2 separate regions of the Homo sapiens genome follow, and region 1 is linked to region 2. Evidence: promoter capture Hi-C in 16 types of primary human blood cells and fetal thymus (Javierre and others, 2016). All regions are on one chromosome and are shown on one strand. The core of a region is centred on a gene start or on the middle of the fragment in contact, and the rest is flanking DNA. Distances in the headings are between cores, read along the strand shown.

Region 1 (4,721 bases), core at 1,922-4,421, 240 kb after region 2:
GGAGAGAATATGAAAGAAATTGCATCTGGTTTTTGTTTTGTTTTGAGATGGGGTCTCACTCTGCCACCTAGGCTGGAGTGCAGTAGTGTGATCTTGGCTCACTGCAACCTCCACTTTCCAGGTTCAAGCAATTCTCTTGCCTCAGCCTCCCGAGTAGCTGGGATTACAGGTGTGTGCCACCATGCCTGGCTTATTTTTGTATTTTTAGTAGAGGCGAGGTTTCACTATATTGGCCAGGCTGGTCTCAAACTCCTGACCTCAGGTGATCTGTCCACCTTGGCCTCCCAAAGTGCTGGGATTACAGGCGTGAGCCACTGTGCCTGGCCTGCACCTGGTTTTTGATGCAGTGGTTTCCCTTGGGAAGTAGAATTATAAGGGACTTCCACTTTCTAATTAATGGGTTTCTACAGGGCTTGAATATATTTTATGATGAGCGTGTATTATTTTCAGGGTCATATTAAGACAATAATGAACAAAAAACATGCGCCTAAATGTATCTATTGGCAGAAGGACACAATTCTATCTTGGGAAGAGGTCCTTTCTAGATTAACAGCTGCATACTACTGGAAAGTTATTCCTTTGATGTCATAAACATTGATTGGATGCTTACTGCATCCCAGGACCTGTGCTGGGCATTGGAGACAGGAAGCCGGGTGAAGGAGTAGACAGTGATTCGGGGAGAATGGTGCATGAAACACTGACGGCAGCATCCTTCAGCTACAACCGGGAGGCTGCAGAGAGGGGCATCCGCACAGACAGTCGGTGCCTGTGTTTTTCTCCCAAGTAGCCTGGTTCCCACTTGGGACTGACAAAGGGGCAATGGCTAAGCCCCTTTCTGATCACTTTCTTGTATCACACCTTGCCATCTCTCCTGTTAGCATAATAATCTCCTCGCTGGTTTTCCAGAACCCACTCTCCAACCCACACTGCAGTCCATTCACCACACAGCAGCTGGAAGGAACTTTTTAAAAAATATGTCAGATTGGCTGGAAGCTGTGGCTCATGCCTGTAATCCCAGCACTTTGGGAGGCCGAGGTGGATGGATTACGAGGTCAGGAGTTTGAGACAAGCCTGGCCAACATGGTGAAACCCCATCTCTACTAAAAAAAAAAAAATACAAAAATTAGTTGGGCATGGTGGCATGTGCCTGTAATCCCAGCTGAGGCAGGAGAATTACTTGAATTGGGGAGGCGGAGGTTGCAGTGAGCCAAGATCGTGCCACTGCACTCCAGCCTGGGCGACAGAGCAAGACTCCATCTAAAAAAAAAGCATCAGATCACACCACCCCATACCTCCAGCCCCACTCATGGGCTTCCTAGGACCCAGAGAACAAAATGTGAACTTCCTCCTGGGATCTTCAGGGCCCTGTGTGAATTGGCCGGTGTCTGTCTGGTGCCCCCTTCTCCCTTCTCCTCTTGCTCATCCTACACTAGCCACTCAACCTTCCTGAAGGTCCTCGTGGGCTGGGCTCCTTGCTATACCAGGACCTTGGCACATGCTCTTTCTCCAACCCTGGCTCTTCCTCAATCCTTGGGTCTCAGTCTCGGAGCCTTCTCTGACCACCAAGTCAGAGAAGGCTGACTTGGTACTGCCAACCTCCATATCTCCCACATATTCTCCCTCAAGCTCCAGCTGTCCCTCAAAGTTGACCACAGTTTGTAATTATTTTGTTTGTTTACCTGTTCTTTTCTGAATTCCCCACTGGAATCTAAGCTGTATCACCAGCCTGGCACAGAGGAGCAACAGGATCCACAGAGGGAAGCCTGTCAGGGCTGGAATGAGGTGACTTTGATCATTCCCCAGCTTTCCACCCCAGCCATCCACTGGTGCCCACTGAAGTGCAAATGATGCCTTCAAGCTGGGTAACTGTGCAAGTCCCTTCACCTCTCTGAGCCTTAGCTTTCTCTTCTTTATACTGGGAACAAGATAATCCACTTTATGGATTCACTTGTGAGTATTAAATATGATTAATACATAACTCTTAGACCAGCACTTAGTACATGAGAAGTGCTTCATCCTCCTCCTCCTCCTCCTCATCATTTTCAGGCTCTGATTATGCCGAGGGAAGACTGCCTGGAGTTGGACTGCCCAGTATAGTAGCCACAGGTTGCATGTGGCTATTGGCCCTGGAAACGTGGCTGGCCCAAATTAAAATGTGCTGGAAGAATAAAACACATACTGGATTTTAAAGACTCACTACAAGGAAAATAGTCTTCCTCAAATATAAAATTCATAACTTTTATATTGATTAGTGTTGAAATGATAATATTTTGGATCTGTTGGGTAAACTATATTACTCAAATTAACTTCATCTGTCCCTTTTTCTTTTTAGATGTGGCTACTAGAAAATCTTAAATGAGGCCGGGCACGGTGGCTCCCGCCTGTAATCCCAGCACTTTGGGAGGCCGAGGCAGGTGGATCACGAGATCAGGAGATTGAGACCATCCTGGCTAACCCAGTGAAACCCCATCTCTACTAAAAATACAAAAAATTAGCCGGGTGTGGTGGCGGGTGCCTGTAGTCCCAGCAACTTGGGAGGCTGAGGCAGGAGAATGGTGTGAACCCAGGAGGTGGAGCCTGCAGATTGCACCACTGCTCTCCAGCCTGGGCAACAGAGCAAGACTCCGTCTCAAAAAAAAGCTTGAATCCATCATAGAAGGTGGGCAGGATTTTTGTAGTCAGAAAAATAATTATTAATTATCAATATTATGAAGGAAAAAAGGAAATGGTATAATAAATGTATAAAACCAAAATAGTTTGGAAAATGGCATAACATTAATGTCTTAAGTACAATTCATATCTTGCGCACTTCAGAGTGCTTTCACGTTCGTTGCCTTATGGTAACCCTGTAGGGCAAGTAGAATTGATTCCATTGTACAGTGGGGGCTGTGACTTACTTACTTGCTTGTATTTAAGGGTAAGTAAATACCCTTCATGTACTAACAAAGACAGCCCTACCAATCTCCATGTATTGTGTGGTCCTTGTGTGACTGGTGCTGTCCTGGGCATGAAGCATACATTATCTCATTTAATATTTGCATTAACACGATGAGGTGAACATACATCACCATTTTACAGATCAGTAAACTAAGCCCTGGAAAGGTTAAGGGACTTGCCGAAGGCCGCACAGTTAGAAAGTGGCAACAGATGAGAGCTAAACCAAACCTTCCTGAGTCCATCTCTTAACCATCCATGCCATTCTGCGTCAGTGAATACAAAGCGATCATAATTGGCACAGCAGGGCACGACTGTTAAAACACCTATTTTCTGATATGAAAGTTTATTTTCCCTAGAAGAACCTAAAAAGTAAATCATTAGTGGCTGCAGACAAAGTGGTAAATAATACACCCATTGTTACAGATGAGAAAACTACGTCCCAGAAAGGTTACAGGACAAGAGTAATTAGAATATGTGTTTCTCAGGGCAGTGGCCTCCCCACAGCTTGATACTGGCCTCCATGTTGCCCATCCTGATCTCTGGGGTCTGCAAATTCCCTGTAAGAGTCTTGTACAGCCTTAGGCACCCATTGGGTAGTCAACAAATGCTAACTGGCTTGACAACTGCATTAAAATACGATGTCCCCAAGATCCCCTCTTCCTTTTATTTTAGTAAACCATTAATTCGATCTGTATTTAGCAAGCATAGGCAGAGTTCTTACATTGTAATAGTTTGGTGCAGGAGTTTCAAACTTGAGAGCTTTCATAAAGCTTGGCAACTGGAACATGCTGGAACACGAATTACTAAAGTCTCTCTTGGAAATAAAATCCGATGGGATAGTGTATGCATTCGCTGCAGGGTATTTAGAAATGATGGTGTCCAATCGGGCGCACTGTAAGGAGACAACCAAAGGAATCAGCATTGTCACATAATATTGTGGATCTGAAGGACAGATGTCAAAAAGATGGTGACCAGCACAAGGTCTAAATGCATTTTATAAAAGGCGAAACTCTGGCAGTAACAATGATAAACTGACCTCAGGCTTTGAGGATCTTCCCTTGGAAAACGCAAGTTCAGACCTGTACTCGCTTCTGTAAACTAACTCAAATTATTCATCTTCTGTTTGGGACTTGGCAAAAATGATTTTGCCATAAATGCATTTCCACCCAATCCTGTTCCAGGCCACTTACCCTTGACTCATCAGCTGTTGGGTAATTTATGTGATAGGAAGCTTTAGATGCTCTTCTCAGCCTAGGCTTTTCTTCTGAGTAAAATCTCACATCTTGTTTCTAAGGTTAAATGATCTGAACTGCCTAAGCAACGAGTTTGCTTCAAACAAAGCTCCAGGGGGCTTGTTGTCCATCTGTGCCTCCTACCCTCCACCAAATTACTGTTTTCATCAAATCCTACAGTATTTTCACGGTTTAACAGAACCAATCCCACCCTTTCAGGAAGCCACGATAAATTATCTTCAGTTAAAAAACAAACAGAATCAATGTTTGTCAAAAGAACAGGGACAAAAGTCACAGAAACTCAGTGATAACATCACTTTCCCCTAAGATAGCATGGCAAGTATTGGAGTCTGATAAAACAAAAAATTTCCCACTATTTAATGGTCAAAAGCTTGAGAACATTGCCCTGGATTTTCTCACTTGATAGGAATCAATAACTACACAAACACAGAAAGTGGGTGAGCCAAAAGGAAGGCATTAGGGCCCCCCTACTTCACTCTGTGCTTGGTGGTGACGGTCCTCAGCGTCTGGTTTATGGACCCCCACTAGCAT
Region 2 (4,374 bases), core at 807-3,306:
TCTGGCCCAGCAGCTGCAAAATGTCTTCAGGCTTCCTGGAGTCCCCAGAATGGGGCCTTAGGGATGGCGCGGGGAGGGGTCTACTGCCTCTACGCAAGGTGACGGCTGTGCCGTGGAGCCTTAGGATGTAGCTGACATCTTGTTTGGATGTGAGGCTGGGTGGAATTGGGGTCAGTTCTGGAGGGAGGGGTCCTGGATTCAGGGCTGAGTCTAAAGTTGAGGAAAGGAGTCCAGTCAAGGTCAGACCTGAACAGTGGCTTCTGGTTGGGTGGTGGGTCAGGGCAGAAGGGTGAGGGTGGGCTTTGAGAAGCCAGGCTCCATCAAGGCTTGGGGTAGAGTCTGCAGCGGGAACGGTTGCTGGTTGAGGTCAGTGTTCTGGGTGGGAAATAGAGGGCCCATCTGGGTTGCAAGGAGGCTGGTGGCTGAGGTGGGGGCATGTTGCCAAGGCAAAGGACCCTGGGCTACGTGGAGGTTGGCACCACTTTTCAGGAGGGAACTGCAGTTAGCTTCCTGAAGTGGGGTAAGTGAACCTAGGCCCACTCCTGTCTTTTAGGGATGTCAGGGTCTAACAAGATCTCCCCCTCTTCTCCCACCCTCCTCGCTCCTTTTCCTCCTCAAATCTATCATCCATTCCTCAGCCTGTGTTGCTTCGGCACTTCCCGGGTGAAAGTCTATATTGTGAAATCTGGGGAGACATGTGTTGTGTGGAGCCTGGCAGCCTGGCGGATTTATAAAAGGCAACTTGTTTTTTCACATTCATGTGGAAAAACAATGTTCTGTCAACCAGCTGGGAAGCTAAGGAAAAATACACAAACAAGAAACAATTCCACATGCTCTGGAGTCAGCCTAAGATTGGGGGGGTGAGGGCCCGGTGTGTGCAGCGCGAGGCAGCTGACCCTTGACAATCTCCTAAGGGCTATTTCTTGGGGTCCCCCATCTCAAAGGGCTGGGAGCCTCTAGGATTTCTAACCAGTATGGCTGAGGGTCTAAAGGGACGTGTCTTGGTGCCTCAAGGGGGTGCCTCACATCTTCCTGGAACGCCCAGCTTGATGCTGGGAAGCAGACTGGAGGGGGTCCCACAGAGCTGGAAGCCCTGGAGACGCAGGCAGCCCTGGCGGGACAGTGGCAGAGAAGGTGGGAAGCTCTGCCTTTTCGTGGGCCTCGTCCTGCACTTGAGCAAGGAGGGCCTGGCCGAGGCCATACCTGCTCGCCATCCTCAATCAGGACTATGCTTTGACTTCCTAAGGAAGTTCCCTGAATTTCATGCAATGCACCAGGAGAGCAGAGAGAGAGTCTAGGGTCTCATGTAACGTTCTCCATAATGATGAGCCCCCCACTCCGCTCACTTTATTGGCTTTGAACACTATGCCCTTAAGACCTGTTTCCAAATGAGTCCTGTGTCTTAAGACCTATTAATGTAGCAGACCTGGCCACTCTAGGAGAAAATGCTCTTTCAGATCTATGATAACAAAAGGGGCCAAAGAGGCCCTGCAGGGGCATGGAGGGAGGCAATAGTGAACTCAAGCTTCGTTTCCCCCGGTCCTTCCTCCTCCTCCCCTGTCAGGCCAGTGCCAAGTGAGAGGCAGAGGAAGGATGGTACAAACTGTGCCGACACCGTTTGAGGGACCGAAGGATGTCTGCCTCCTCCAGGCCAATTCTCCATTCACTGAGGTGCAGCGATCCAGCACCCCCAGTTCAGACAGCTGGCTATATCCCTCAAGACCCGAGGGTCCTTTGGGTCCCTGGAAGAACCCAGGGTCTGAGGCACCCTCTCATGCCCCCAGCAAACTAAGCTGGGCATTTGCTTCTCCGTGAACACCCGGCACCCTGCTCAGCCCTAGCAGGGGAGAAACTGAAACTGGCTATGCTCGGGCTGGGGAGGGTGCTGGGGAGATGACCCTGATCGTTGGCCCCTGGGATAAGGGAGGTCTGACCACAGGGTAGATGGGCACTCACCAGCCAGGGATCCCACAGTCAAGATGGTCAGCAGCGTCCTCATCGGGGCTGGCACAGAGCCCTCCCTTGGCCTCTACTCTGCCGTGCACAGAGAGAGGGCTGGGAGTCTTGGCGCCCTGGCAGCTGGCTCCACCCGGGCATGGGGCGGGGAGAAGGGGGTGGGTGGGACCTGTGCCGGTGGGGAGCAGGGGTACAAAGGTGTCCTGGCCCTGTGTGCTCTGGAATTCCAGGTTCTGGGCGGGATCTAAGGGAGTTCCCTTCCGACTTGCAGAAAACAGCAATAGTAACAGGCTGGCTTGTTTATCTGGTCCGGTGGCTGATTCATCCCAAGTGGTTTATCAAGGAGCTGAGGGGCAGAAAAGGCAAGAATAATCCACGATATGCAGCCTTATCAAAAAGCAATTTGGCACTGTGGATCAAAAGCCTACACCACATACATATCTTTTGCTTTAATAATTCTATTCCTAGGGGATTTACCCTGATGAAAATAACTGGACAACAGAGGGGGAAAAAAAAGGTCCCAGAATGTTTCTTGCAGCAAAGGAAAAGCTGTGACTCCTTTGCTTTTCTGGCAGGAGGAGATTGAGGGCACCCGATGCTCCTCCTTGATCCTCCATATCAAGGCAGGTCCCCACGCTTGGGGTGGGCTTGGGAACAGCTCTCCCCTAGAGAGGCCGTTGGGGGTGAGGAAGCCCAGCCGCTCTTACCTTGAGCCTTTGGGTCTAGGATCTGCAAAAGTTTAGAAAAAAAATGGAACTCAAACTTCAGTGATTCTTTCTGCTGTGCTAGAGATGGGGCTGAACTTCATGAATGGGGCTTTGGTTCGGGACGATGAAGATTCAGGCTGCTCTCCCATCATTTTGCCACGTAGGGCAGGATCTGCACATGAGCTTCGTGTGAATGAAGGGACAGGTGTTTAGGAAATGGTTTTCTCCTTCCTGCAGGGCCTGGAGAAGGTAGAAGGGCCCTGGGGCCTGGACTCTGGTCAGGGTGGACACGATTGGAGGGTCCTGCCCCTGGGGAGAGTTTGCCTGGCCCCAAGCACACAAAGGCAAGCGAAATTTTAGCAGGGATCCTGCCAACGGGTTGGGTGTAATGGGCTGTGATATGCTGAGATCGGTGTTTAAGTTTTTCTTTCCTGAATTGTAATTGTTATCAGCCCTGATTGCTAAAGTTTGTTTGACAAAACAGCCAAATCTAAGCTGTGCTTTGGAGGAATTAAGGTAGGGCCCATGCCAGTCATTTCCTGAAACTGCAGGAAACTACATTTTCTAGACTCCTTTATCAACTGCTTTCTGATAGGTTTAGCCCCTGGGGGAAGACTGGGGAGGCAGAGATCAGAGCATTTCTCCCCTCGTTTTCTGTTTGAGTGGCTTCCCCAGCAATGGCCATATCCCTCTGCAGTTCTGGCTCCCTCTGGACAGTCCATCAGCCAGGCAACCCCTTATGTCTTTCTTGTTCCTGTTTGGAGGCCAGCTCCTGGCTCTGGCAACACCTTCTCCCCTCATCTTTCCTTTCAGTTGGTGGGATGGCACAGCTTCCTGCTTTGGGGAAATCTCTGAACTGTCTGTCCTGATTAGTGTCCCAGCTCCTTCATCCTCTGGGTGACGAGCTCCTTTACATTAAAGTCCCTTGGTCTGAAAGACTGGAGAGGTTTCTGTGCTACTGAATGAACCATGATGGATAGAGGGTTTTTGATGACTTTGATGACAAGGCAGTGTGGGGAAGCTACAGCGAGAAAAACAGGTTACAAGGGACGCTTAGGGAGAAGAGCAGGCTTTGGTCCCAAGTGGCTGGCCGAGAGGACAAGACGCAGCCCCAACAGGTCTGTGGAACACGAAAGTGTTCCTTGGGGCCTCTCAGAAGCACTGGAAGAAGGAACTTGATGGAGGAAAAGGGCATCCTGTAGTTTCGAGGGCCTGTGGTTATGTAGGAATTAACGGGAAGGAAGACACCTGGATTGCTAAGGAATGTGGGAACACCCAGACTTCATTTCTAACAGTTTAAGAAAAAAATAGGTGGGGCGTGGTGGCTCATGCCTGTAATCTCGCACTTTGGGAGGCCAAGGTGGGCAGATCACCTGAGATCAGGAGTTCGAGACCAGCCTGGGCAGCATGGCGAAACCCTGTCTCTACTAAAAATACAAAAATTAGCCGGACATGGTGGCGGGCACCTGTAATCCCAGCTGCTCGGGAGGCTGAAGCAGGAGAATTGCTTGAGCCCAGGATGTGGAAGTTGCAGTGAACCGAGACCGCACCATTGCACTCCTGCCTGGGCGACAGAGCGAGACTCCGTCTCAAAAAAAAAAAAAAAAAAAAAAAAAAGGAGAAAAAAATGAAAACAACCTCCATGTCTGACAATAGAGGTTTGGTTAAAAGAATAATGGTATGTCCACCCAAAGCAAGACAAATGCAGCTT

The links. Contacts are between HindIII fragments. The CHiCAGO score rates a contact against its expected background, and 5 or more counts as called.
Region 1: a fragment that was not itself captured here is called in contact with the fragment with the promoter of IL22RA1 in region 2 in 13 of 17 cell types (M0 macrophages, naive B cells, total B cells and 10 more); the score reaches 11.3 in M0 macrophages.

What each region holds. Positions count from the first base shown.
Region 1 is chr1:24,375,995-24,380,715 of GRCh38, forward strand. STPG1 (sperm tail PG-rich repeat containing 1) reads right to left here. Exons shown (of 9, transcript NM_001199013.2): 5 at 3,659-3,829. Among named protein-coding and RNA genes, the nearest start is that of STPG1, 35 kb to the right of the region's middle. The HindIII fragment of the contact is 1,067 bases long and covers 2,639-3,705 here.
Region 2 is chr1:24,141,084-24,145,457 of GRCh38, forward strand. IL22RA1 (interleukin 22 receptor subunit alpha 1) reads right to left here and starts at 2,057. Exons shown (of 7, transcript NM_021258.4): 1 at 1,957-2,057. The coding sequence starts at 1,999. The HindIII fragment of the contact is 5,016 bases long and covers 1,524-4,374 here.